Regions from separate parts of the Homo sapiens genome. Here regions 2, 3, 4 and 5 are each linked to region 1. Evidence: promoter capture Hi-C in human tissues and cell types (Jung and others, 2019). All regions are on one chromosome and are shown on one strand. The core of a region is centred on a gene start or on the middle of the fragment in contact, and the rest is flanking DNA. Distances in the headings are between cores, read along the strand shown.

Region 1 (5,009 bases), core at 1,031-3,530:
GCAGGGCTGGCTCACTGGTCTCTGGGCCGTAGAGGAAACGGCAGCTGCAGGTCTTCTGCATGACCTCGGTGCGACCGTAGCCTGTGAGCTCGCAGAAGCCGTCGGAGCAGTAGACGATGGGAAAGCCCCGTGTGCCCTGTGCGTTGGCCAGCAGGAAGTTGCTGTCTGTGGGAAGAAGAGGTCAAGGTCAGGTCAAGGCTGGGAGGCGAGCTAGCTTCCAGGTGGGCAGCACTTCCTCTAAGTTGGGGTTAGAAGTCACAGAGCCAGAAGCTTCCCAGGTTTCCATGTTGCTCCTGACCCCACTTTGGGATATTCTGAATTGAGAATTGGAGAAGTTGGAGCAAAGAGACAAGGACTTGAGACAGGACTTAAGCAGGGTCTAACGGGGAGTTGGAGAAGGACCCCAGGAGGTCATGCCATCCATCCCCCTGCCTTCCAACTGGTGAGCTGTCACTGTAGAAGGCAGTATAGCATGGTGAGTAAGAGCCTGGGCTCCTGCAACCCTCCACTGCCACTTACTAACTGTGTGACCTTGGGCAAGTTGATGACCTCTTCTGTGCCTAAGCTTTCCTTATTTGCAAAGTAGGGCATAATAGGCCTTCCTCACATGGTCGTTGTGAGAGTTACATGAGTTAACTTGGGGAGAACAAGTCCTAGCACATGGTAAGTGCTACTCTGAGAAGGTGAAATTTTTTCCCCACATTCACTTGGCTTTCTTCCTATTACAGAGTAAGCAGGGCAGAGATTCTGATGACACCACACCCATTTATTGATAGGAAACCAAAAGGCAGAGATTATCCAAACTCACAGATCTCCTTAGTGTGGGGGCAGACAGTGATGAGTGCTGTCTTCCTTCCCTGCCTTCCAGAGAAGGTCCACTTTTTAGCATTCTTGTAGCTGCTTTCAGGGGATCTGCCCCACTGCTCAAAGTCTAATGGGAGAGGGCATTGAGCGTATAGCTCCAGCAACCCCCAGCAGCAGAACCCGAGCTGTCTCCCTCCAGCTCCAATGGGTGGGAGGCCAGGGGGACTCCTGTGGGCCATCCAGGGACAGAGACTCAGCTAAGAGATGGGGCCTGTGACACAACCAGTCCTGGTGCTCTAGGAGGGATGACTGTCTGGGGGCAGGGAGGCTGATGGGGACACTGAAGGTGCCTGGGAGGCACTGGGCTCTGGGCACAGCCTCCTTCTTCCATCCCAGGGCCTGTTGCCCCGGTGATGGGCGCTATGGAAACAAGGTGGTGGGGAAGAGGGTAGGGCCCGGCGGCTCAGTTTCCGCCCTCGGGTACCGCTCCCCCACCATCCAGATCCCGGCCAGGGTTCCCGAGGGAATGGCGGGGTTGGGGGAGGTGAGGGCGGGGAATCTCTGGGTTCCAGAGTGGGAAGAGGGAATGGCGGGAGAAGAGGCGGGGGAGGAGTGATGTGGCTGTCCAAGGTGCTGAACCTGAAACCCAAGCTACGTTGGGCGAGCTGGGAGTTCCCACCGTCGCACAGACCGCTCCCCTCCTCCTGCCTCACCCACCTTAGACACTGACGCCCCACGATTTGGGGGCGCGCGACCTCAATCCAAACTAGGTCCTGCTGAAGTCTGATCTTTTCTCCTTTTTTTCTGGAGGTAGTGGGAGCTGGAGTCTGTGAGTAGACCCCAGAATGCCCGGCCACTTTGCCCCACTTCTGTGTCTCGGATACCCCCATACACGCCCCCAGCACAGCTCTGCCCGAGAGTGGGCGGCTCCGAAGGACCCTCCTCCGCTCTGCCGCACAAAGAGCCTCTTCTGCCTCGAGTCACACCCCCTAACCTTGGCCCCCGTGCTCTCGGCCCTTTCCCCTCCTCCCCTCGCAGGGCACTCCCCGCCCTGTTCCTGCACCGCGGCTTTGGGAGTTCCTAGACCCGCACCTCCATTCTCTCCCCTCGCCTCGGGTCTCACCATGTCCAGGAGATCCGAGACGGCCCCGAGGATACTTGCCCCCCAGCTCGAACCTCAAGCCCCGACCTCCGTCCCACTCACGCGTTCCGTCAAAACGGGTGGCGATGGTGTCCAGGAAGGTGTTTTGCGGGGCCAGCAACCCCTTCATGACCGGCATGGCCCCGGGGCGTGGGTTCAAGGCGCGGCGCTGGGGAGCTTTCAGCGCGGCCGGGCCGGAGGGGGCGCGCTGTCGGAGGGGCCGGGGCGCCCCATGCGCCCTCCTGCCTCCTCCCCTCCCTCTTACTGCCGCTGCCGCTGCCGCTGCCTCTGCTCCGAACCCCGTAGCTCTCGGCTCGGCTCAGCGCCGTTTCGGTCCCCCCCACCTCCCCACGGGCCAGGTTCTTCCCCTCGGGCTCGGCCCGCACCCGCCACGTGGCCCCACACGGGGAGGGGCCGCTAGCGACACCCGCACCCCTCTGGGCAGCCCTCCTCCCAGAGGGGAGCGGCCCACGCGTGTCTCTCGGGGAGAGAATTCGGGGCACGCCCACCGGGAGGGGAGGCCTGAAATGATGGGCGGGGCTTGAATAACAGACCCGCCCTCTTCCAGGCTGGCCACGCCTCCACACGTGGTTCCCTGGCTGCTCCTTGTGGCTCCACCTCGCGGGTTTTCCCGCGCGGCGTCCACGCTGGGCTGGTGTCTGGTTCACAGTGCCGCCTACTGGAGTTGACATATTTCGCAGCACCCACAGGCCAGTAGCTCCAGCGTGAGACAGCAAGGGTTAAGAGGCTAGTTTGCTGGTAGAGAATGGACAATGGGAAGGCTTGAAACCCCAACTCTAGAAAGCACCATTCTTACCTCCTGCCTCAGTTTTCCCAAGACACCCTGGCGAACTCTGCCTACTGAGACACAGCATGGTGGAATGAAAAGAGCTTTGGAGTCCACCAGGTAGAGTCCCAGCTCTAGACACCAATCGTGTGATATCCTCTCCAAGCCCACTTTCCTCATCTGTAAAATGGAGCTGATAATTCTTACCTGATGCAGTTACCGTGAGAATGTAATACCATAATGCATGTCTTTGGTACAAAATAAGTGTCTTGAAGGGCAGTTGCCTGCCTGTTTTCCCTCTTCCTACTGTCTTAATCCTCCTCTCTGCTGCCCTTCAAGTGGAAGAGAGGCTGGAGGCAAGTTTGGGAGAAACTACCTCTGAAAAAGATAGTTTCGAGGTGGGCAGAGTCATGGCTTGCAAATCTCCAAGGATGCACATGTGAACTTTGACCTCTAACTTCTCCAAGATGGAACCAGTACAGCAGCAAGAGGGACCAAAGTGAGACTAGACACAGGACTTTCTCACTACCTATGCAGAAAATTGAGGCAGCTGAGTTCTGTGGCTGAGGGTGGCTGCTTCCCACGACAAAACAGCTGAAGCAGTGAAAGTGGGAACCCTATGGGCAAGGAGGGCAGGCTAAATTCTCCCCACCCTCTGAGCTAGGTATTATCTGGGATGTTAGATTGCTAAGAAGTGCCACATTTTTCTGTGTCTCTACTTTTGTTGTTGTTGTTGTTCTTGTTGTTCTTGTTCTTGTTGTTTTTGAGACGGAGTCTTGCTCTGTTGCCCAGGCTGGAGTGCAGTGGCATGACCTCAGCTCACTGCAACCTCTGCCTCCTGGGTTCAAGCAATTCTCCCGCCTCAGCCTCCTTAGTAGCTGGGATCACAGGCGTGCATTACAATGCCCGGCTAATTTTTGTATTTTTAGTAGAGATGGGGTTTCGCCATGTTTGCCAGGCTGGTCTTGAACTCCTGACCTCAAGTGATCCGCCCGCCTCAGCCTCCCAAAGTGCTGGGATTACAGGCATGAGCCACGGAGCCTAGCCTGTGTCTCTACTTTTGGATGTTATATTAGTTTCCTAGGACTGCCATAACAAAGTACCACAAAGTGAGTGGCTCAAACAACAGAAACCTATTGTCTCACAGTTCTGGATGCTAGAAGTCCAAGCAAGGTCAGGTGAAGAGCGTTGGTTCCTTCTGAAGGCTATGAGGGAGAATCTGTTGCATGCCTCTCCCCTATCTTCTGGGGGTGGGGGTGCTGGCAATTTTTGGTGTTCCTTGGCTTGTAGGAGCCAATCTCTACCTTCATGTTCACATGGGTTCTCCCTGTGTGTGTTTCTGTGTTCCAATTCCCTTTTTTATAAGGACGCCAGTCACAGTGGATTAGAGGCCCACCCTACTCTAGTATGACCTCATCTTAACTAATTGCATCTGGAAGGACCTTATTTCCAAATACAGCCACATTCTGAAGTGCCACGGGTACGGACTTCAACATATGGATTTTGGGAACACCAGTAACAGGTGTCTTTGGCTGGAGTTGCAGTAAAATCTTGTACTGCCCCTGCTTAAGAATGTCCCATGACTCTGTTACCTACAAGATAAAGTGCAAAGCCCGATGATTTGTGAGAGCCTTTGCGAGCTGTGCTGCACTGACTGTAACTGTGTCCCTTCCTGAGCCTCTCCACTCCCCACACCCTATACCCCATGATGCAGCCATTCTGGATGACTCATTGTTGAAGTTCAAATTCCCTGCCTTTTCAGCAGGATTGACTCCCACCCCTTCCTAGCTGGATTCTGCTGCTCTATGCAGCTTGCCTGCCTTCCTTCCTTCCTTCCTTCCTTCCTTCCTTCCTTCCTTCCTTCCTTTCTTTCCTTTCTTTCTTTTCTTTTTTCTTTTTCTTTCTTTTTTTTTTTTTTTTGACAGTGCCTCCTTCTGTTGCCCAGGCTGGAGTGCAGTGGCCCAATTATGGCTCAAACTCAAACTCCTGGGCTCAAGCAATCCTCTCGCCCACCATACCCCGCTAATTAAAAAAACTTTTTGGAGAGATGTCTCACTCACTATGTTGCCTAGGCTCGTCTCGAACTCCTTGCTTCAAGGGATCCTCCTGCTTTGGCCTCCCAAAGTGCTGGGATTACAGGCGTGAGCACCGCGCCCGACCGCTGCAACCTTTCTTGCTTTCCTTCCCCTTCCGCGTCTCTGGGTAAAGTCCCCGCTACAGAATGCCTAGCAGAGCATCGTAGGAGTCCCGCATGGCCCGATCCAAGCATGCACCTGT
Region 2 (5,539 bases), core at 2,524-5,023, 380 kb after region 1:
AAAATTAGCTGGGCGTGGTAGTTTGTGCCTGTAATCCCAGCTACTCGGGAGGCTGAGGCAGGAGAATCGCTTGAACCCGGGAGACGAAGGTTGCAGTGAGCTGAGATTTCTCCACTGCACTCCAGCCTGGGTAAAGAGTGAGACTCGGCCGGGTGCGGTGGCTCATGTCTTTAATCCCAGCACTTTGGGAGGCCGAGGCGGGTGGATCACCTGAGGTCAGGAGTTCAAGACCAGCCTGGCCAACCTGGTGAAAGCCTGTCTCTACTAAAAATAGAAAAATTAGCTGGGCGTGGTGGTGGGTGCCTGTAATCCCAGCTACTCAGGAGGCTGAAGCAGGAGAATCACTTGAACCTGGGAGGCAGAGGTTGCAGTGAGCCGAGATCATGCCGTTGCACTCCAACCTGGGTGACAGTGAGACTCTGTCTTAAAACAAAACAAAAGAAGCAAAGTTTATTTTGCTCAGAGCTTCACAGTTTTAGGGGCTGGAAAGTGCAAGAACTTCATGCAGTATCTGGCAAAGGGCTGTCCCAGGATGGAAGGGCAGAAGGTGGAAGCAAATGAGAGACACGAAATTGGGCCAAATGTCGTCCATCCATCAGGAGCCACTCCCATGATAACAGTATTTATCTATTCAAGAGGGCAGAGCCCTCATGATCTAATTATCTTTTTTTTTTTTCTCCTGCCTCGGCCTCTTGAGAAGCTGGGATTTTAGGCGCATGCCACCACACCCCGCTAATTTTTGTACTTTTAGTAGAGACGGGGTTTCACCACGTTGGTTGGGCTGGTCGCAAACTCCTGATCTCAGGTGATCCACCTGAGATCCACCACTTTGGCTTCCCAAAGTGCTGAGATTACAGGAGTGAGCCACCTCGCCCAGCTGACCTAATTACCTCTTAAAGGCCCCACCCTGCCCAGTGCAGTGGCTCAGGCCTGTAATCCCAACACTTTGGGAGGCTGAAGTGGGAGGACTGCTTGAGTTCAGGAGTTGGAAACCAGCCCAGGCAACACAGCAAGATCCTGTCTGTATGAAAAAAAAAATTTTTTTTTTAATTAGCCAGGTGTGGTGGCACACATCTGTAGTTCCAGCTGCTCAGGAGGCCAAGGCAGAGGACTGCTTGAGCCCAGGCAGTTGAGGCTGCTGTGAGCCATGATCAACCCACTGCACTCCAGCCTGGGGGACAAGAGTGAGACCCTGTCTCAAAGAGAAAAAAAGTCCCATCTCTTAAGACAGTAGCAATTGAATTTTTTATTTCAACATGAGTTGTGGCAGGGACATTCGAACCATAGCACCAAGGTTCTCCCCAAAGCTCTCCAAGACCTTCTTTGATCTGGTTCCTGCCCCCTTTCTGATCTCATCTCCCACCAATCTCCATCTACATCACCCAGTTCAGCCCTCCTGCCTCAGGGCCTTTGTACTTGGCCCCCTCTGGGTCACATTCCCTGATCTCTGATTCTATGTCTTCCTTCAGATTTTTGCTGTTTTCCTGAACCACCTTATCTAAAATAGCCTCTCAGCTTCTCCACTATAGCTCCCTTACTCTGCTTTACTTTTGTTCTTATCCTTTATCACCAGTAGATATATTATGGATTTGGGTTTTTTAATTTAATTTTTATTTTTTTTGGAGACGGAGTCTCTCTGTCACCCAGGCTGGAGTGCAGTGGCGTGATCTCGGCTCATTGCAATCTCTGCCTCCCAGGTTCAAGCGATTCTCCTGCCTCAGCCTCCTGAGTAGCTGGAATCACAAGTACCGCCACCACACCCAGCTAATTTTTTGTATTTTTAGTAGAGACGGGGTTTCACTATGTTGGCCAGGCTAGTCTTGAACTCCTGACCTCAGGTGATCTGCCTGCCTCAGCTTCCCAAAGTGCTGGGATTACAGGCGTGAGCCACCGCGCCTGGCCATGTATTATAGATTTATTTATGGTGGCATGATTCCTGTCTGCAACCCCAAGACACACAGTACTCTATACCCCAGGATGGCAGGGACATTGTTTTGTTCACTGGTCCATCCCTGTGGGAGGCAGTAAAATACACATTTACTCAATAAAAATGACTCTGTATGTGGTGTGTCAGACTGTGTGTCCAGATGTCTTGGGACATTCTCTGGCAGCCTTTGCTGTTTGTGTCTTCAAATCAGACCCTATCTTTAAATCTAACATGTCTCCTGTGAGAAGCCTGGTCCCTTAATACCTTTGTGGCTCTACAACTCTTCCCTCCTTGACTGTATCTCTTCCTCCAGGTCTTTGCTGTTTTCCTGAATCACCTTATCTAAAATAGCATCTCCTTTTCTCCATCATAAGCCCAGGTTTTGTGGGGCTGGGGGCTTATTTGCTTTTGGAGACCGTCTTCAAGAATACAAAAGATAAACACAAAATTACATATAAAAGTGAGTTTTGTTTTTTTTTTTAAGTTTCGGATACCACGGCACATTACTGGAATCTTGGAGACTGGCTTCTCTCCCTTTTGATCTCCATGCACAACTTACCTGAGATGTATTCTAATAGCAACCTGGCTTCCCCTCCACACTCAGCCTTTCAAGCGCCCATTAGCTTCGCAGTAAATCTCCCACACTAGGTATCCAGCCTTTGCCTTTTTCTTTTTTCTTTTTTTTTTTCCAGAGGGAGTTTCGCTTTTTTTTTTTTTTTTTTTTTTTTGAGACGGAGTCTCACTCTGTCACCCAGGCTGGAGTGTAGTGGTGCGATCTCGGCTCACTGCAAGCTCTTCCTCCCGGGTTCACGCCATTCTCCTGCCTCAGCCTCCCGAGTAGCTGGGACTACAGGCGTCTGCCACCATGCCCGGCTAATTTTTTTTTGTATTTTTAGTAGAGACGGGGTTTCACCGTGTTAGCCAGGATGGTCTCGATCTCCTGACCTCGTGATCCGCCCGCCTCGGCCTCCCAAAGTGCTGGGATTACAGGCGTCAGCCACCGCGCCCGGCCGGGAGTTTCGCTCTTGTTGCCCAGGTTGGAGTGCAATGGCACAATCTTGGCTCACCGCGACCTCCGCCCACGGGTTCAGGCGATTCTCCTGCCTCAGCCTCCTGAGTAGCTGGGATTACAGCCATGCGCCACCACGCTCGTCTAATTTTGTATTTTTAGTAGAGACAAGGTTTCTCCATATTGGTCAGGTTGGTCTCGAACTCCCGACCTCAGATGCTCTGCCCACCTCGGCATCCCAAAGTGCTGGGATTACAGGCGTGAGCCACCGCGCCCAATCAGCCTTTGCCTTTTTCTCCTGTCCACAGAGACCCCGCAAACAAGCGCATCAGAGGATCTGGGTGGTGCGAGAGCCTCCTACAGCAGCCAGGTACACACAAGGCCTCAGTTTTTCCATCTGTGAAATGGGTACGTGGACAGACCTGTCCAGTAGCCTCCCATGTGAGAATCCTCGGACTGAGAGGGTACTAGGAGGGCTAATACAGCGCAGCCCTGTGATTCCCCACCTCTGTCCCTGGAATGAAGGAAATCTGGGTGTTAGTTCTGGCTTTGCCGATGCCTCTTGGGTGGCCTGGCTGAAACTAATCTCTCCTCATCAGGCCAGAAGGGAATCTGTGAAATGGGCTTTGAAACCTGCCTTGCCTTTCTCCGCCCGGTCCCAGCGGGGGTCCGATCGGCATCAAGGCTTCACCCACTCCCAGAGCCTTCGGGATCAGCCCCACCCCATCAGCAGGACACAGCCCATGCCACTGGAAATCTCGCGAGAATCCCGCGCTGAAGCGAAGTCGAGACGTTTGACCTTCCTCCGTTTCCGTAGTTCCGAGTTGCGGTTTCTCCGTTAGTGCTTCCGGGTTGCAGCCAGGGAAGCCTCCGCGGTGGTGCAAGTGGAACCCAAGCCTTGAGGTTTCAGTGAGTAGGGGGCCGACGTGAGCTTTAGCGTCCCCCTTTAGCCTCCCTCTTCGATTCCTTGAAGACCCTGGTGCAGCTTAGCAAGAGGGCCCAGGATTTTTGGATCCCCAGCCCTGTGACAAGGGTTCCTGTCCAGTTTCCCCCTCCCAGGATTTCGACTCAGTTCAGCGAAGTCACCGCCCCGTCTGAGAAATGAGGACACCAAGGCTTAGAGCACAGCCCCGAGGCGCCGTCTACCAGGCCCCGTCCCCTCCCCCGGCTCCTGTCGGTCAGCACTGAAACCCCGTCCCTGCTCCAGGCCTCCTTCTCTGGGGTCCAAGGTCCCATACAGGCCTCTGCCTCGGCCGCAGGCCCTTCAGTCACCGTCGCCTCGTCTCCCTGACTGTCCGCAGGCCTGGGCAGCATGGCCGTATTCCGGTCGGGTCTCCTGGTGCTGACGACGCCGCTGGCCTCCCTAGCCCCTCGCCTGGCCTCCATCCTGACCTCGGCGGCCCGGCTGGTGAATCACACACTCTATGTTCACCTGCAGCCGGGCATGAGCCTGGAGGGCCCGGCTCAGCCCCAGTCCAGCCCCGTGCAGGCCACGTTTGAGGTTCTTGATTTCATCACGCACCTCTATGCTGGCGCCGACGTCCACAGGCACTTGGACGTCAGAATCCTACTGACCAATATCCGAACCAAGAGCACCTTTCTCCCTCCCCTGCCCACCTCAGTCCAGAATCTCGCCCACCCGCCAGAAGTCGTGTTGACAGATTTCCAGACCCTGGATGGAAGCCAGTACAACCCGGTCAAACAGCAGCTAGTGCGTTACGCCACCAGCTGTTACAGCTGTTGTCCGCGACTGGCCTCGGTGCTGCTATACTCCGATTATGGGATAGGAGAAGTGCCCGTGGAGCCCCTGGATGTCCCCTTACCCTCCACGATCAGGCCAGCTTCCCCCGTGGCCGGGTCTCCAAAGCAGCCGGTGCGTGGCTACTACCGTGGCGCTGTCGGTGGCACGTTTGACCGCCTGCACAACGCCCACAAGGTGTTGCTCAGTGTCGCGTGCATCCTGGCCCAGGAGCAGCTTGTGGTGGGAGTAGCAGACAAAGATCTGTTGAAGAGTGAGTAAGAGGGACCCTGGACTAGGGTGGAGGATCCCCAAATCTCCCCACCCCCGACCCTTATGCCGAGATCAAGGAAGGGTAGGGCCATTCATTACTTCCCACCCTTCCCAAATGTCACAGTGGTTGACACTCAATTGGTGCTAAGGCCATTTTGTCAAATGAACAGCTTTCTCAGCATGTGGTCCAGTCACCACTCAATCAGAATACCCCAAATGTGAAGCAAAGGGATCTGCATTTTAGCAAGTTTTCCAGGTGATACACCCTAATGAGACACTGGGAATGAATGGGTGAGTGAGCTGCAGGTAGCAGTGCCACAGACAGGAGGAGGAAACTCAAGCATGGCATGGGTCTTGGAATTTTCCATCTGCCTCTGATGCCCTCTGGCACTGCTCGTTCTCTGGAGTGGTTTCCTGGTGGCTTATTCTCTGGACACATGCCAGCCCTTGGAGTGACTATTGTGCTTGCCTGTTTCTTCACCTTCATGCTCCCCTCACCATCACCATAGGCCTTACCAGTTGAACCCTTTCTGCCACCCCCTCTGGGGATACTGTACTTAGGGACACTTTTTCCCAAACTGGCCCATACTCT
Region 3 (5,194 bases), core at 166-2,665, 430 kb after region 1:
CACTTCAGGTGATGACAACTGAGAGAAGCAGCAGTTCCATTTTCACAGAGCATGACACACACAAATAAAGCATATTTACAGTGCTACTTTTCCAGCTCAGGAAAACTCACACACAGTATTAGACATCAATTTCCTTGCCTATAAACCATGGCTAAGGATGCCTCTCTAATTCCTTGGAACAGGGAGGAGTTACAATCACAGGTGGCTTTGACACGCGTGTAATCTCCGTCATCATTTCCTAACTGTTCTTTAAAAGCTTGTAATTTTCTTTCAATTTTCAGCTTTGGGGGCTCACACTGACGCTTAGACTTCATAAACTTCCTTCCTAGATATATAACATGCTAATTCATGCGAATCGCTCAAGCTTGTTTTATAATCACACCTATGGATACCTTTGCAAGACTTCACGCCTCTACTCCAACAATAAACTACTAAAACCTCTGGAAACAATCTAGAACTTGCACTTGAGCAGACAAGAGAAAGGAAGTGATGGCTTTAAAGGGACGCAGCTTTGTCGGGCTCAAAAGAGGAGCCCTCGCTCACTCTTGAGCGGCTCAAGATGTTACCAGAAGCTCCCGCCAGATGTGCGGGGCGGGGGTGCGGGCACAGGTAAGGCAGAGAAGATGGGTGGACGGCCCTGGGAAGAACTAGGGTGCCGAAGCCTGCAGGCGGGATGGAGTGGAAGGAGGTGAGGCAAAATTAGGCAAGTACAGGAAGGAGCCAGTGCAGCGAAGAAAACAGGGCAGGCGAGAAGTAGAGCCCTAGAGGAACCAACGAATTCGGGACTCGGAGGGTTTCCGAGGGTCCAGTTCTCTCACCAGAAAGCCGCGTTCAGCCCCAGGCACCACAGAGCGCTCCTAGCTGGCCGCTCCCACACCAGGGCTGCCTGCACCCGACTCAGCAGAGGCTCGTAAGGCCCCAGCACCTCCACCAGGGCCCGCTGCGCCGCCTCAACCTGCTGGTCCCGCTCCCAGGAGCCTGACACATCTCGGCGGCCCCTGAAAGTCGACCCCGAAGCCGGGCCTGGGGTCGTGGGAACCCCTTCGGCCTCAGCCATCTCCCCGCGGCAGCCACAACATCCGGGGCCGTGGCCCGACAAGTCACAATAACAGCAACTGCGCAGATGCGCGATTCGGCGGGGGAGGTGGCTTCGCACCACAGCGCGCTTGCGCGCAGGCCCAAGCAGGCGCCCACCCAGAGGGGAGGGAGGACGCCGTACCCCGCCCTCACTGAGGCGCGGAGCCGGATCCGGAGGCGCCGAGCCGCATCCGGAGCCGCGCACGCGCAATCTGCATGAACGAAGGCCAGTGCTTAAAGACGTGCCATTCATTGCCAGAACTCGATTCTCATTGGAGCGGAGGAAGTTCGTGGGTGGAGCTGGTTGTTTGGCGCCTGCGTCTTGCGGCGAGCGGGCTGGCGTGCGGCGCCGTTGCGGGCGGGAGCGGCTGCAACGCCGGTGCCTGAGGAGCGATGCCGAGGGAAATCATCACCCTACAGTTGGGCCAGTGCGGCAATCAGAGTGAGCGAAACTCCGGCCCCTCAGCTAGCCAGGTTCCTTAGGGTCAATGGGATCTCGCTGTGGGATCCTGGACTCCATCTGTCCTTGCCAGAATCGTAGTTCTCTGAAAGGCGAGACATCCCTGACCCAGTGTCCACTTGCCCAACCCCGAGGGGCCCTCCCCTGCCCAGTCCCTGGCGTACAGTCCTTTCCTCAGACACGGGAGAGTCCTGCGGCTTGACTTCTTATCCCTGGACGCAGGCGCCCAGTCCCCCGGCTCCTGATTGGAACCTGCCCGGACCTAGATATCTTCTTTCTCCCCTGCCCGCCCCTTCCCCCCAGTTGGGTTCGAGTTCTGGAAACAGCTGTGCGCCGAGCATGGTATCAGCCCCGAGGGCATCGTGGAGGAGTTCGCCACCGAGGGCACTGACCGCAAGGACGTCTTTTTCTACCAGGTGCCCCCAGCGACTTGGCCGGGGGCGGCAGTTGCCCAAGGGGGCGGAAGGGAAGGGAGTGGCCTGGTACTGGGAACCCCGCTGGGCAGTAGGGCCAGGCGGCTGGCTTGAGGAGGGAGGGCCGGAGGGAGCCAGAGTTGGGAGGACTTCGGACTTGGGCCGCCCTAGCTGATTGGGCCCCCTCCTGGACTCCCCTTGACAGGCAGACGATGAGCACTACATCCCCCGGGCCGTGCTGCTGGACTTGGAACCCCGGGTGATCCACTCCATCCTCAACTCCCCCTATGCCAAGCTCTACAACCCAGAGAACATCTACCTGTCGGAACATGGAGGAGGAGCTGGCAACAACTGGGCCAGCGGATTCTCCCAGGTCGTTTCCTATTCCCTGGCAGGGCCCACAACTCGCTGGGTAGGGACAGGCTCTATGACGTCCCGAAGAGAGGGAAAACCGGATCAGGGATGTATGAATGCTGGAGGGAGAGACCTGGCTGCAGGGAGTGGACTATGTAATATTGTCAAGCGCCTACACTAGCTAATGCAGTGTGCCAGGTCATTCTAAGTGCTTTACATATATTAATTTTTCTAAATCTCCCAACAACCCTAGAAGTAAGTACTACAGGTCCACAGTCCCTTATCTGCCTTTCCAGGATCCAGAAAGCCATGAAACCAAAGGACATTTCATAACTAGTTTATCAGCAAAAACAAATTTCAATGAAGACAGGCTGTTTTATAGTTTCTTTTTTTTAATTTTTATTTATTTATTTTTTTTGAGACGGAGTCTCACTCTGTCGCCCAGGCTGGAGTGCAGTGGCACGCTCTCAGCTCACTGCAACCTCTGCTGCCCGGGTTCAAGCGATTCTCCTGCCTCAGCCTCCCGAGTAGCTGGGATTACAGGTGCTTGCCATCACGCCTGGCTAATTTTTGTATTTTTAGTAGAGACGGGGTTTTACTGTGTTAGCCAGGGTGGTCTTGATCTCCTGACCTCGTGATCCACCTGCCTCGGCCTCCCAAAGTGCTGGGATTGCAGGCGTGAACCGCCATGCCCGGCCCTATAGTTTCTATCCAACTTACTGTCATTAGTGATGCCTTTTATTACAGAAATACTAATATATTTGATTAACGTGCTTCTGATTAAATAAAAATTCCCACTGGAATTTTATTTAATATATAGTATATATACCATAATACCTTTCTAAAATCTGAAATATTTTGAATTCCAAAACATAACTGGCCCCAACACTGTTAGATAAGGGTATATGGACCTGTATTATTACCTTCATTGTACAGATGAGGAAACTGAGGCATAGAGCAATTAAATAAGCTGCCCAGAGCTACATAGAAGTAGAGTTAATGGGCCAGGCGTGGTGGCTCACGCCTGTAATCCTAGCACTTTGGGAGGCCAAGGCAGGCAGATCACCTGAGGTCAGGAGTTCAAGACCAGCCTAGCCAACATGGTGAAACTCTGATTCTACTAAAAATACAAAAAATAGCTGGGCATGGTGGCATGCGCCTATAATCCCAGCTACTGGGGAGGCTGAGGCAGGAGAATCGCTTGAACCCAGGAGACGGAGGTTGCCATGAGCCAAGATCGCGCCACTGCACTCCAGCCTGGGAGAAAGAGAGAGACTCCATCGCAAAAAAAAATAGAGCTAATGTATGAACCCAGGTAGTCTGGGTGTAGAGTGCTTTCTTGTAACCACTGCACCGTACTGCCTCTCAATGTAGATAAAAGCAGGTAGCTATGCTCCATAAAAGGACTTCTGGGTGTTATAAGGAGAATTGAGGGTGGCTTTTCTGAGGTCAGAGACCTCCCATGGTTCTGTCCCACTCTGACCCTCCCCTATGTCTGTACAGGGAGAAAAGATCCATGAGGACATTTTTGACATCATAGACCGGGAGGCAGATGGTAGTGACAGTCTAGAGGTAAGTGTCCCAGGAATGCTGGTAGGAGCCGACATGGGCAAGGCTTGGCAGCACCCTCTAGAAGCGACCTGTTAGGAACAAGACCCACTCATGTACCCTTTGCACTGGACAGAAGCTATCAGGCCTTGCCAGAAACAAGGCAGTTGCCTAAGCTGTATAAGTGAGGGGACTGGATGGGAAGCAAGGGCTCGGGAAAATGGGAGTCCTAAAAAACTATGAGATGGGTCTAGTTTGACATCCTGCCACTAGATACCTGTACACTGACTGCCCCTTCCCCATGCAGGGCTTTGTGCTGTGTCACTCCATTGCTGGGGGGACAGGCTCTGGACTGGGTTCCTACCTCTTAGAACGGCTGAATGACAGGTAAGTTTGTGTTTGGGGATTAGGAAAGGTCTCCAACTTGGCTTCCTAAATGACTAGGGGACCCAGCAGATATAACTCCATATTTGCTGGAACAGGAAAGAGTTCTTATATTCCCTCCTATAGAGAGGAAAATGAAGTTACAATGACTGAGAACCCCATCACACTCCCAGTAGTGGGAACTGGAGCCTAGAACCTGAGCCCTGGATGAAAGTCGAGGGAGTGTGGCCAGGTCTCAATTTGGAAGCCCAGAGTCTAAGATGTCTCTGCCCTTCCCCCTGTAGGGCTACAGACTTCCAAAAGTCAAGGCTCCCTTCTCTACTGATTTGACCCCACCCCAGTTTCGCCATCAAGATTTATCTGCTTCTGGACAGTTGTTAGGGAGCGCCATGTTCACCAGGCCTTCGGTCTGTTGCCCTGATCCTTTCCCCAACCCCCACCAGGTATCCTAAGAAGCTGGTGCAGACATACTCAGTGTTTCCCAACCAGGACGAGATGAGCGATGTGGTGGTCCAGCCTTACAATTCACTCCTCACACTCAAGAGGCTGACGCAGAATGCAGACTGTGTGGTGAGTCCTGGATTCTACCTCTCCCAACTCTCAACACCCCATACCCACTCGAGTCTATTAAATCATTTTCATGTATTTAAAAAAAATCCATTTTAGCCAGGTGCAGTGGCTCATGACTGTAATCCCATCACTTTGGGAGGCCAAGGTCGTTGGATCGTTTGAGTTTAGGAGTTCGAGACCAGCCTGGGCAACATGGCGAAACCCCATCTCTACTAAAAATACAAAAATTAGTCGGGAGTGGTGATATGTGCAGAAGGATCACTTGTGCCTCAGAGGCAGGGGCTGCAGTGAGCTGAGATCATGTCACTGACTGCACTCCAGCCGGGGTGACAAAGTGAAACCCTGTCTCAAAAAACAAGAACAAAAAAAAAAACTGTTTAAATAATTA
Region 4 (4,938 bases), core at 1,320-3,819, 320 kb before region 1:
CCCATGCACTTCCCAGGGATCTCCTTAACCAAATCCAAAAACTCCTGATCTTACTCCCAAACAGGCTCTTCTGCAATCTTCCACATCTTAATAATTCCATCCTTCCCATTGCTTGGGTCAAAAAGGTAGCAGTCTTTTCCCTTATACCCCACGTCAAATCCATCAGCAAATTCATCTCATCCACTTTCAAAATATATCTGGAACCAGAGCAGTTCTCATCACCTTTACTTCTCCCTCCTCAATCGAAGCCTCCACCACCACTGCCACAACCTCCTACACTAGTCTCTCTGCGTCTGCCCTTGGTGCCCCCTCCTCCCCAATGCCACATCCTTTGTTCTTTTTTTTTTTTTTTTTTGAGACAGAGTCTTGTTCTGTCCGCCAGGCTGGAGTAGAGCGGCGCAATCTCAGCTTACTGCAACCTCAGCCTCCCACCTCCCAGGCTCAAGCGATTCTTGTGTCTCAGCCTCCCCAACAGCTGGGATTACAGGCACACCACCACGCCCGGCTAATTTTTGTACGTTTAGTAGAGACAGGGGTTTCACAATGTTGGCCAGGCTGGTCTCGAACTCCTGACCTCAAGCATCCACCCACCTCGGCCTCTCAAAGTGCTGAGATTACAGGCGTGGGCCACCGCGCCTGGCCGCCACATCCTTTTTTCAGCACAGCACTATTCATCAAATCAGACTGCATCATTCCTCTGCCCCAAACCTTCCCATTTCAATCAGAGTAAAAGCTCATGTCCTTCCACAGGCCATCAAGGCCCTACGGGATCTGGATCCCTGCCCATTACCATCCTGGGGCTTCTCCTGTTCCTCTCATCCTGCATCCCTTTGATACAGCCACACTGGCTCCCCACTGTTCTCTAACATACAAGCTCCACCTCAGAGCCTCTGTACCTGTGTCCCCTACCTGACACAGTCTACCTTACCTCCTTCGGTTCTTAGCAAAACGTCTTCTTCATAGGGCATTCTCTATCCACCCAATTTGGAAAACACTTCCTCTCCCCCAGCAGTTTCTATGTACTCCCCCCATGCTTTATTTTTCATCAGTGATGACAATCATCCAACAGGCTATACATTTAACAATCATCCAACAGGCTATACATTTTACTTATTTACCGTCCATCTACCAACCTAAGTGCGATAAGGAAAAGGACTTTTGTCTGTTTTGATCACTGCTGAAACCCTAGCACCTTAGAATCCCGCATCTGAGCTGATGCGTAATAGGCGCTCAATAGGCATTTTTGTTAATGTATCTGTAAGATGATAATTGCCAAAACAAACGCCTCTCCATCTCTATAAACGGTATTACCTGCCTTCTAACCAGTCTCTGGAGCATTCCTGCTCCCTACAATCCGTTTAACACAGTGGCAGAATAATATTAAAATATTTAAATGAGCTATTTCTTTACCCAGCTTCCTATCACACTTAGTGAAATCCAAACTCCTTATTCCAACGCATCTCACGCATCCTTCTCCCCTTCATCCACTAGATCCAGCCTCACTGGACTATATTTTAATTCTCTTCTCTAAGCCAAACTGGATCCTGCCTGAGGGCGTTTGCGCTGTCTGGAATATTCATTCCCCATCTTTGCACGGTCAGTTATTTTTTGACATTCAGAGGTCGATCTAAACTTCACCTCTTCAGAAAGATCTTTATTCAATCCCTAGCCTTTCATTCCTTTTGAACGTCAGCACAACAGTTACCACATACTGACTTTCCTTTTCATCACTTTTGTCCCATCACCTAGTATCTGAGCTCCTTGGGCGCGGGGCGCCCTCGCCGGACCTGATGGTGCATCCTCCTCGCCCACCGCGGTGGCTGCCCCCAAGCAGGCGCTCAGCGAGTGTGAAACCAATGCATTCACTCAGGACTCGCGAGCTGCCGTGGCAGGCACTGCCCTCCCCTCCGCCAGCGAGCATCTCCCCCTCTCCGCGCCCGCCGCCCTCCGCGCTCCCGCCTCCCTCGCCTACCTGTCGGCCAACTCCAGCACCTCGTGCACGCTGCCCGTGCTGACGCGGATGCGCCCGGTGTACATGTACTCGATTACGGCTTCCACTGTGTCGGGTTCGGGCCCCGGCTCGGAGCTCCACTTGCGCATCTCCACCCGTCCCGAGCGGGACTCGGAAAACTGGCCCGAGAGCAGGGGCGTGAAGTACTCGGTGGCGGCAGCCAGTACCGAGCGGTGGGCCCGGAACTCGCGGCCTCCAGCCCCGCCGAAGCACAGGGTAATGTCGCAGAAGAGGCCCTGGCGCCGCTGCTCGTTCTGCCGCCAGGACAGCTCTGAGCAGTGAGAGCTGCACTCGAAATCCTCGGCTTCTGGGCCCGGATCGCCCCCGCTCGCCTCCATTGCAGAGATCCCCGGCCCAGGCCCGAAGTCCACCGTGCCGCTGCCTCGGACCTCGGCGGCCAGTCCTGCCGAGCCGGCGGCGGCCGTCTCCATGCTCTCCATCTCCAGTACCTGAAGAGATGCAGCCGCGGCCGCCGCCGCCGCCGCCGCCACTGCCGCAGCCGCCATCTTGACGCCGCTGCGCCCGGCCTCCACAGCCTCGGAACGATGCGGCTGTTGGTACGACACAGAGGGATTCTGGGATTAAATAGTGCGCGCGGGGCGGGGCCAGGTCGCCCGCCGGCCGCACATGCGCCGCCTCGCCTCCAGCAGCGCCGCCTCGCCTCCAGCAGCGCCGCCTCGCCTCCAGCAGCGCCGCCTCGCCTCCAGCAGCTCTGCCTGCCTTGGTGAGGTCCGTCAGTAACAGTCGCCCAGTCCAGAAGACTTCGCCCCAGGCCTACCCCCAGGGCGTCGGTGCGAGTATGGCTCGCTTCCTTTCCTTAGTGGGTAGCATGCTCTCTGCAGTCATTTTGTCGAGTAAAGCCACCTTAGACCATCACCTGTTGTTAAAGCCTTGAGTGGCAATACAGGATTTTTATAAGATCTAGCCCCAGCTAAGTGGATGAGGGATGAATGAGTTACTCGTTATCCGTTTTTTTTTTTGTTTCTTTTTGTTTTTGTTTTGTTTTGGGTTTTTTGTTTTTTTTTTTTTTGAGACGGAGTCTCGCTCTGTCGCCCAGGCTGGAGTGCAGTGGCGCGCTCTTCGCTTATTGCAACCTCCGCTGCCCGGGTTCAAGCGATTCTTGTGCCTCAGCCTCCCGAGTAGCTGGGACTACAGGCGCCCGCCACCACTCCAGGCTAATTTTTTTTTTTTTTTTTTTTTTGAGACGGAGTCTCGCTCTGTCGCCCAGGCTGGAGTGCAGTGGCGCGCTCTTCGCTTATTGCAACCTCCGCCGCCCGGGTTCAAGCGATTCTTGTGCCTCAGCCTCCCGAGTAGCTGGGACTACAGGCGCCCGCCACCACTCCAGGCTAATTTTTTTTTTTTTTTTTTTTTTGAGACGGAGTCTCGCTCTGTCGCCCAGGCTGGAGTGCAGTGGCGCGGGTCTCGGCTCACTGCAACCTCCGCCTCCCGGGTTCACGCCATTCTCCTGCCTCAGCCTCCGGAGTAGCTGGGACTACAGGCGCCCGCCACCATGCCTGGCTAAGTTTTTGTATTTTTAATAGAGACGGGGTTTCACCGTGTTAGCCAGGATGGTCTCGATCTGCTGACCTCGTGATCCACCCGCCTCAGCCTCCCAAAGTGCTGGGATTACAGGCATGAGCCACCACGCCTGACCGTAGATGAGCATTTTTAAAACCATATATACTGAAACTATTAGTACAGTTCAGGCCAGGCCAGGCACAGTGGCTCACGCCTGTAACAGCACTTTGGGAGGCCAAGGAGGATGGATTGCTTGAGTCCATGAGTTCCAGAAGAGCCTGGGAAATACAGCAGAACCTTATCTCCACAAAAAATACAAAAGTTAGCCTGGAGTGGTGGCATGCTCCTGTAGTCCCAGCTACTTGGGAGGCTGGAGTGGGAGGACTGCTTGAGCCCAGGAGATGGAGGCTGCAGTGAGCTGTGATGGTGCCACTGTACTCCAGCCCTGGGGCGACAGAGTGATACCCTGTCTGGAAAAAAGTACAGTTACAAAGGAATACAGATCAAAGGATATGGATGCCAGGAGCCAGCAGTATGCCTTCATTGTTACTATATAGTTTATTTAAACCAGACTATGATAATACAGAGAAGAGACTGAGGTGGCAGCTGCCCAGAATCTTTGTGGATTACAGATGCAAAGTAGTTAGGAGTCCTTGGACCCACACTTCAGTTACAGACAGACAAATCAGCTGCATAAATACAGAGAACATAAGACACAAGACATTTCACAGCTTTCTGCATTTCCATTTTAAATGTATGTATGTTACAACTTTACATATTAAGTTACTACTCCACATATTTTGTGACAATGGCTAAGGATGCAATGGCCCCATCCCCCTGACATAAACAGACTCTGGTCTGCAACACAGAACATTTCAGTGGGATACCAAACAAGCCCTTAACACGTAACATACAAAAAGATCTTTAAAAATCAGATTAATACAATGTTCTTCATGTTATATAAGGAAGAAGAAAGGGAAGTAAAAAAAAAAAAAGAGAGACATTGGGGTGCTTTAAATGTATAGTATCTTGAGGCCATAAATGTTTCATTCCCTTCCTCCAAAGGAGAAAAAAATGTTTAACTAATGGAAAAAGAAAGCAACATCCTAACGCCCTACAATGAGGAAGACCCCATCCTGACAGTACTTAGATGCTTCCATATAATAAATACAGCAGGTAGCAGAGCAAAGTCACAAATATTGGCTTGGTTTTTATTTCTATGCTTATAAAAAAAATATGAAGCTTCTTTGTGTGGACTGAAGGGGTGTTAGCCTGTGGATGTTGGTCTTCGGTGCCTGTACCCCAGTGGCTGTTTACATTCCAGGCCCCTGCTAAATAAAGCAGGCTCCACTGCCAGCTGTCTGTACACTTTTTCTTGGGGGAAGAGATCTTGTCTTCAGTTTACTGCA
Region 5 (5,380 bases), core at 1,564-4,063, 490 kb after region 1:
GTCCTCCCACCTTGGCCTTGGGATTACAGGCCTGAGCCACCATGCCCAGCAGTACTTTTATTTTATTTTATTTATTTTATTTTATTATTTTATTTTATTTTTGAGACGGAGTCTTGCTCTGTCCCCCAGGCTGGAGTGCAGTGGCATGATCTTGGCTAACTGCAAACTCCGCCTCCCGGGTTCATGCCATTCTCCTGCCTCAGCCTCCGAATTAGCTGGGACTACAGGCGCCCGCCAACATGCCTGGCTAATTTTTTGTATTTTTAGTAGAGACGGGGTTTCACCGTGTTAGCCAAGATGGTCTCGATCTCCTGACCTTGTGATCCGCCCGTCTCGGCCTCCCAAAGTGCTGGGATTACAGACATGAGCCACCGCGCCCGGCCTCAGTACTTTTTTTTTTTAAACTAACAAACCTACTTCCTGGCTTTGGAGTTCAGCAGGGGCTAAGCCAATATCTTATTTCTATGCCCATTTTATCCTCAAGATGCTGTGATGCTCTTCTGTCCCCCCAGGTGGTGCTGGACAACACAGCCCTGAACCGGATTGCCACAGACCGCCTGCACATCCAGAACCCGTCCTTCTCCCAGATCAACCAGCTGGTGGGCCCCCACTCCCGGACTCCTTTGGACTGGAAGCCCTCCTTGCTGGAGGGTCATCTGGGGAAGGAAGGTCCCACCCAGGCCGAGCCCCATGACATGGCACGCCTGTCCCCAGGTGTCCACCATCATGTCGGCCAGCACCACCACCCTGCGCTACCCCGGCTACATGAACAATGACCTCATCGGCCTCATCGCCTCGCTCATTCCCACCCCACGGCTCCACTTCCTCATGACCGGCTACACCCCGCTCACTACAGACCAGTCAGTAAGAGCAGCCTTCAGTGTCCCAGGCCAGGCTGGCCCTGGGCCCAGCAGGCCCTGCCCCAGCCTTTCTCTCTTCCCCACTGCCCCAGGAGCTGCCCTTTGCAGGCCCCAAGGCACTGCGCTCAGGGACTGGCACAGAGCGGGCGACTTTCTTGCTGACTTTCTCTCCACCCTCCCTCTGCCTTTGGCTTCTGCCAAAGAGAAGCCAAAGGGACTGTGCCCTGAGCGCTGGCCGGGTCCCTGTCTCACTGTCCCATCAGGTGGCCAGCGTGAGGAAGACCACGGTCCTGGATGTCATGAGGCGGCTGCTGCAGCCCAAGAACGTGATGGTGTCCACAGGCCGAGACCGCCAGACCAACCACTGCTACATCGCCATCCTCAACATCATCCAGGGAGAGGTGGACCCCACCCAGGTAGGGGAGGCCCCTTCATCCCGCGCCCTGGACCTGCAGGGGTAGAGGAGAGGCCACCTCCACTGCTCCTATGCCCACCCCAGGTCCACAAGAGCCTGCAGAGGATCCGGGAACGGAAGTTGGCCAACTTCATCCCGTGGGGCCCCGCCAGCATCCAGGTGGCCCTGTCGAGGAAGTCTCCCTACCTGCCCTCGGCCCACCGGGTCAGCGGGCTCATGATGGCCAACCACACCAGCATCTCCTCGGTGAGTCTAGGTTTCTATTCTTCTTAGAAGAGTCTGTTCCACTGGCCACCTTCATCATCTTCCCCAAGTTCACTCCTAACCCCCTGGCTCGCATTTTGGAGATTTTCATCTCTTTCAGCTCTTTGAAAGTTCCTGCCAGCAGTTTGACAAGCTGCGGAAGCGGGATGCCTTCCTCGAGCAGTTCCGTAAGGAGGACATGTTCAAGGACAACTTTGATGAGATGGACAGGTCTAGGGAGGTTGTTCAGGAGCTCATTGATGAGTACCATGCGGCCACCCAGCCAGACTACATTTCCTGGGGCACCCAGGAGCAGTGATTTCCCTCCCCACTACTCCTTCTCCTTCTAGATGGTAACCACAGCCTCGACCATGCCTGCTCCCTCTGACCCAGCTTCACCTCATGGACAACCCTTCTTGGTTCATCTCCAGCCCGTGAGCTGGTCCTGCTTCCTCCCTTCCATGCCCTAACTTTTAATATGCTTGTTCAGCTCTAATAAAGTAATAAAGCTTGGTTGTCAGTATAGCCAGGGCTTGATCTGTGAATACGGGGGGGTGGTGAAGGGGTCCAGTTTCTAGGCATCTGACAGTAGGGTGGCCTTCACCTCCTCCAACGTCTTATCACTTAGTCCAAATCTTAGTGTGTTCACTGTTTCCATTGGCATCCCTCACCTTGAACTAGGCTGTTTAGTATTACTAGAGTCAGCCCTTGTCTCAAGATTACAGAGCTTTACTGAGGTTTGCTGTCTCCTCAGCGCCTAAGCTTTGCCCCAGTGAGGGTCAATGTTGCCCCAACCTCTTCCACTCAGGGCAGAGGAGGTGGGGTCTACTGAAGGAGGGCACACTACATTCTGAGCAGGCCAGGAGAGCCAAGGTTCCAGATTCCCAGTGCCCAGGGCCATGAGAGTTCCAGGAACTCAATCCAGTTCAACCCAACCTGATAAGTAGAAACAGAATTCAAGAGTAGGGCTGAGCACATCCTGAGTTACTTTTCTGTGCCAGAGAAATTCGTGGGTTTGTTATCTGCCCCAAGCTTCTCTCCATTCTAGGCCCAAAGCATTAGGCACACCAATGATGGGCCCAGAGGTGGACAACGAGTAAGAAATGGGCAGTGCCAGATCTGATGACTCACTGCCCTCCAGCCTCAGGGATTCCAGGAGGCCATCTGTATGCCACTCAGTGGAGAAGGGAGGGTGAGTAACTGCCAGCTTCCAATGAGGCCTGTTTGCCTGCTCCACCCACAAACCTGTGGCAGCACACTGGCCAGGAGGAGGTTAAGTCTGGAAGGTCAAGGAGGGGGAGGGTGAAGCGCTGTGGTGTCCAGACTTCCCCCAGAGCCTGGTAAAAGCCCAGGGTGTGGGCATCCCCAGAGGCGGGGCTCTGCGTTATGGGGTTCCAACTTGTCCCACTGAATAACACTCCCACAGGAAGGGTTTGTGTAAATAAGAAACTTTTTTTTTTTTTTTGCTTCTCTTCTACAAATAAATTAAGAAACAAACTAGAAAATTACCCACACCCATTGTAGCCCTTGGGTGTGGGATGTGCCCTGTCCCTGCAGGGCCAAAAGGGTCCATGTTTCCCTCAAATCTCAGAGCAGTCCTGGCCCAGGCTGCAGGCAGGAGGGAAGTCGTGACCTCTTGGCAGGCTCAGTCCTGCAGCTGCCCCAAGCAGCCAGACTGTCCCTGGGGCTCGTCCAGGCCCGGGCGCTGGCTGGGAGGGGAGGTGTCTGGCAGGTCTTGGCATGGAGGAGAAGAGCTGCTGCAGGGCCTCTCGGGGGAGGGGTTGGCCAAGTAGGCATTCACCAGCTGCATGATCTCTTCCACCTAAGAGAGGGCAGAGGTCAGTGTGCAACAGGGGCTGCCAGGTTCTCTTCTTTTTCTCATCCTTTCTCCAGGCTCTAGGGCTCCAGCTTCCCCACCAGGGTCCTACGTGCTCTGGCCCTGCAACCTTTCCTTCCTTATCACCACTCTCTCCTTCATTTCTTTTTTGTTTTTTGAGACGGAGTCTCGCTGTGTCCCCCAGGTTGGAGTGCAGTGGCGCGATCTCAGCTCACTGCAAGCTCCGCCTCCTGGGTTCACACCATTCTCCTGCCTCAGCCTCCTGAGTAGCTGGGACTACAGGCGCCCGCCAACACGCCCGGCTAATTTTTTGTATTTTTAGTAGAAACAGGGTTTCACCGTGTTAGCCAAGATGGTCTCGATCTCCTGACCTCATGATCCGCCCATCTCGGCCTCCCAAAGTGCTGGGATTACAGGCGTGAGCCACCGCGGCCGGCTTCTCTCCTTCATTTCTATGTGCCAGTTATACTTGGTTCTTTCTGCTCTTCTAACATTTTTTTTTGTTGTTGTTGTTGTTGTTGTTGTTGAGACGGAGTCTTGCTCTGTTGCCAGGCTGAAGTGCCTCGGCTCACTGCAACCTCCGCCTGCCGGGTTCAAGCAATTCTCCTACCTCAGCTTCCCGAGTAGCTGGGACTATAGGTGTGCGCCACCAGCCCCAGCTAATTTGTATTTTTAGTAGAGATGGGGTTTCGCCATGTTGGTCAGGATGGTCTCGATCTCCTGACCTCGTGATCTGCCCGCCTCGGCCTCCCAAAGTGCTGGGATTACAGGCATGAGCCACTGCACCCGGCCACCTTGCAATTCTTTCTACCTGGAATGCTGTTCTCCCAGGTCTTCCCTGGCTAGCTTAAATGGCACCCTTTTTGAGAACCCTTCCCTGGCTTCCTGTCACATCACTCTTTCCTTTGTAGCATTTCTCACTGTCTTCATAGCCTGGGATTCCTTGTTTATTGTCTGACTCCACTCTAGTGTAAGCTCCTTCAGCTTGTCTGTGATCACTGCTGGATCCCCAGTGCTTAGAGCTCTACCTGGCCCAGGTTTGGTGTTCTGTAAATGCTTCCTGACATCGCTTCCCTTCTCTCCTCCTCCCACAACTCCTCTTCTCACTCACCTGGGGGCTCTGCAGGAGGAGCTGGCTCTCTCCCACCCTCAAGGCCAGGGTGTGGGGGCCCATTAGCTGGCAGGCGGCCACATGGCCATAGCTGACACTGTGGATGGGCTCCGTCTCCCCTGGCCGGGAGAGGGACATGGCCTTGGCTCCCAAGCCCAGGCACAGCTTCTGTGGAGCACCCCGACCAGGCTCCTGCAGACAGAGAGGCAGAGTCAGGGTGGAAGGAGGAGCCCAGCGTTATTTTTGGTAGGGGGAGATGGGTGTCTGTGAGCAGGAGTATCCTGATCCCCCTATGATTCACAGCACGTGTGTGGAGGGGGCTGAGGCTCCAGGGATGTGAGGGCCCAAGGGCTGGTGACTCCTGGGGTTTGAGATGGGTAGCTGTTCTGGATGTGGGGAATTACGTGACACTCCGTGGGACCTGTGGCTCTGGGGCAAAGGTGTGGGGCTTGGGCCGCCAGAGTCCCCTTCTCCCTTCTCCCCCTCACCGTGCTCAGCTCCAGAACGTCATACCGAGCAGCGCCGAACCCCGGACACTGCGCCGCCAGGGCCAGGTAGGCGGCCATGGCCTCAGCTCGGCCCATGCCCCGTAGCCGCTTCCAGCCGCCCAGCACGGCAGCTGCCGTGCCGGCGCCGCCTCCTCCCTCGCGGGCAATGCTTCCCGCAGTGCGGCCGGCCCCGCCGCGCCGGGCCCGCTCCGCCCGCCTCTTGGCCAGGCCCGGGCTCCAGAGCGCCCCGGCCAGCAGGGCAGCGGAAGGGGGCGGCCTGGGGGTCGGGCGGGGCGGGTCTTCGCGCGGCGGGGCCGGGGGCGGGAGCAGGCGGTCCAGGCGGGGCAGGGGCACCCGCGGAGAGAAGTCCCGCTGCAGGCTCTGCAGGCGCAGCGCCGCCAGGGCGCGCAGCGTGTCGTCGGGTGG

What was found. The method cuts DNA at HindIII sites, captures the fragments that hold promoters and counts their contacts. A contact is called where the count stands out against the background at its distance.
Region 2: a contact is called between the fragment with the promoter of COASY here and the fragment with the promoter of KCNH4 in region 1, in 1 of the 25 tissues and cell types used here (mesenchymal stem cells).
Region 3: a contact is called between the fragment with the promoter of TUBG1 here and the fragment with the promoter of KCNH4 in region 1, in 4 of the 25 tissues and cell types used here (aorta, dorsolateral prefrontal cortex, mesenchymal stem cells and 1 more).
Region 4: a contact is called between the fragment with the promoter of KLHL11 here and the fragment with the promoter of KCNH4 in region 1, in 3 of the 25 tissues and cell types used here (adrenal gland, pancreas and stomach).
Region 5: a contact is called between a fragment that was not itself captured here and the fragment with the promoter of KCNH4 in region 1, in 1 of the 25 tissues and cell types used here (IMR-90 fibroblasts).

The regions. Positions count from the first base shown.
Region 1 is chr17:42,178,862-42,183,870 of GRCh38, forward strand. It overlaps KCNH4 (potassium voltage-gated channel subfamily H member 4), which reads right to left and starts at 2,281. Exons shown (of 17, transcript NM_012285.3): 1 at 2,009-2,281; 2 at 1-165. The coding sequence starts at 2,084. RefSeq lists enhancers at 1-23, 674-1,241, 4,805-4,864 and silencers at 2,191-2,430, 2,437-2,712. The HindIII fragment of the contact is 13,187 bases long and covers 1-5,009 here.
Region 2 is chr17:42,558,375-42,563,913 of GRCh38, forward strand. It overlaps COASY (Coenzyme A synthase), which reads left to right and starts at 3,774. Exons shown (of 9, transcript NM_025233.7): 1 at 3,774-4,948. The coding sequence starts at 4,249. RefSeq lists enhancers at 3,850-4,099, 4,110-4,299. The HindIII fragment of the contact is 9,955 bases long and covers 1-5,539 here.
Region 3 is chr17:42,608,268-42,613,461 of GRCh38, forward strand. TUBG1 (tubulin gamma 1) reads left to right here and starts at 1,416. Exons shown (of 11, transcript NM_001070.5): 1 at 1,416-1,519; 2 at 1,841-1,953; 3 at 2,156-2,323; 4 at 3,808-3,876; 5 at 4,160-4,239; 6 at 4,680-4,806. The coding sequence starts at 1,471. RETREG3 (reticulophagy regulator family member 3) reads right to left here and starts at 1,107. Exons shown (of 9, transcript NM_178126.4): 1 at 819-1,107. The coding sequence starts at 1,057. RefSeq lists an enhancer at 989-1,098. The HindIII fragment of the contact is 7,237 bases long and covers 1-5,194 here.
Region 4 is chr17:41,862,854-41,867,791 of GRCh38, forward strand. It overlaps KLHL11 (kelch like family member 11), which reads right to left and starts at 2,570. Exons shown (of 2, transcript NM_018143.3): 1 at 1,973-2,570. The coding sequence starts at 2,517. It overlaps ACLY (ATP citrate lyase), which reads right to left. Exons shown (of 29, transcript NM_001096.3): 29 at 4,065-4,938. RefSeq lists enhancers at 501-1,010, 2,754-3,254, 3,255-3,755 and a silencer at 2,531-2,720. The HindIII fragment of the contact is 18,491 bases long and covers 1-4,938 here.
Region 5 is chr17:42,664,964-42,670,343 of GRCh38, forward strand. It overlaps TUBG2 (tubulin gamma 2), which reads left to right. Exons shown (of 11, transcript NM_016437.3): 7 at 513-599; 8 at 715-864; 9 at 1,124-1,276; 10 at 1,360-1,521; 11 at 1,640-2,043. The coding sequence ends at 1,837. PLEKHH3 (pleckstrin homology, MyTH4 and FERM domain containing H3) reads right to left here. Exons shown (of 13, transcript NM_024927.5): 11 at 4,955-5,380; 12 at 4,467-4,658; 13 at 2,951-3,340. The coding sequence ends at 3,164. Among named protein-coding and RNA genes, the nearest start is that of TUBG2, 8.4 kb to the left of the region's middle. RefSeq lists an enhancer at 3,267-3,842. The HindIII fragment of the contact is 5,317 bases long and covers 156-5,380 here.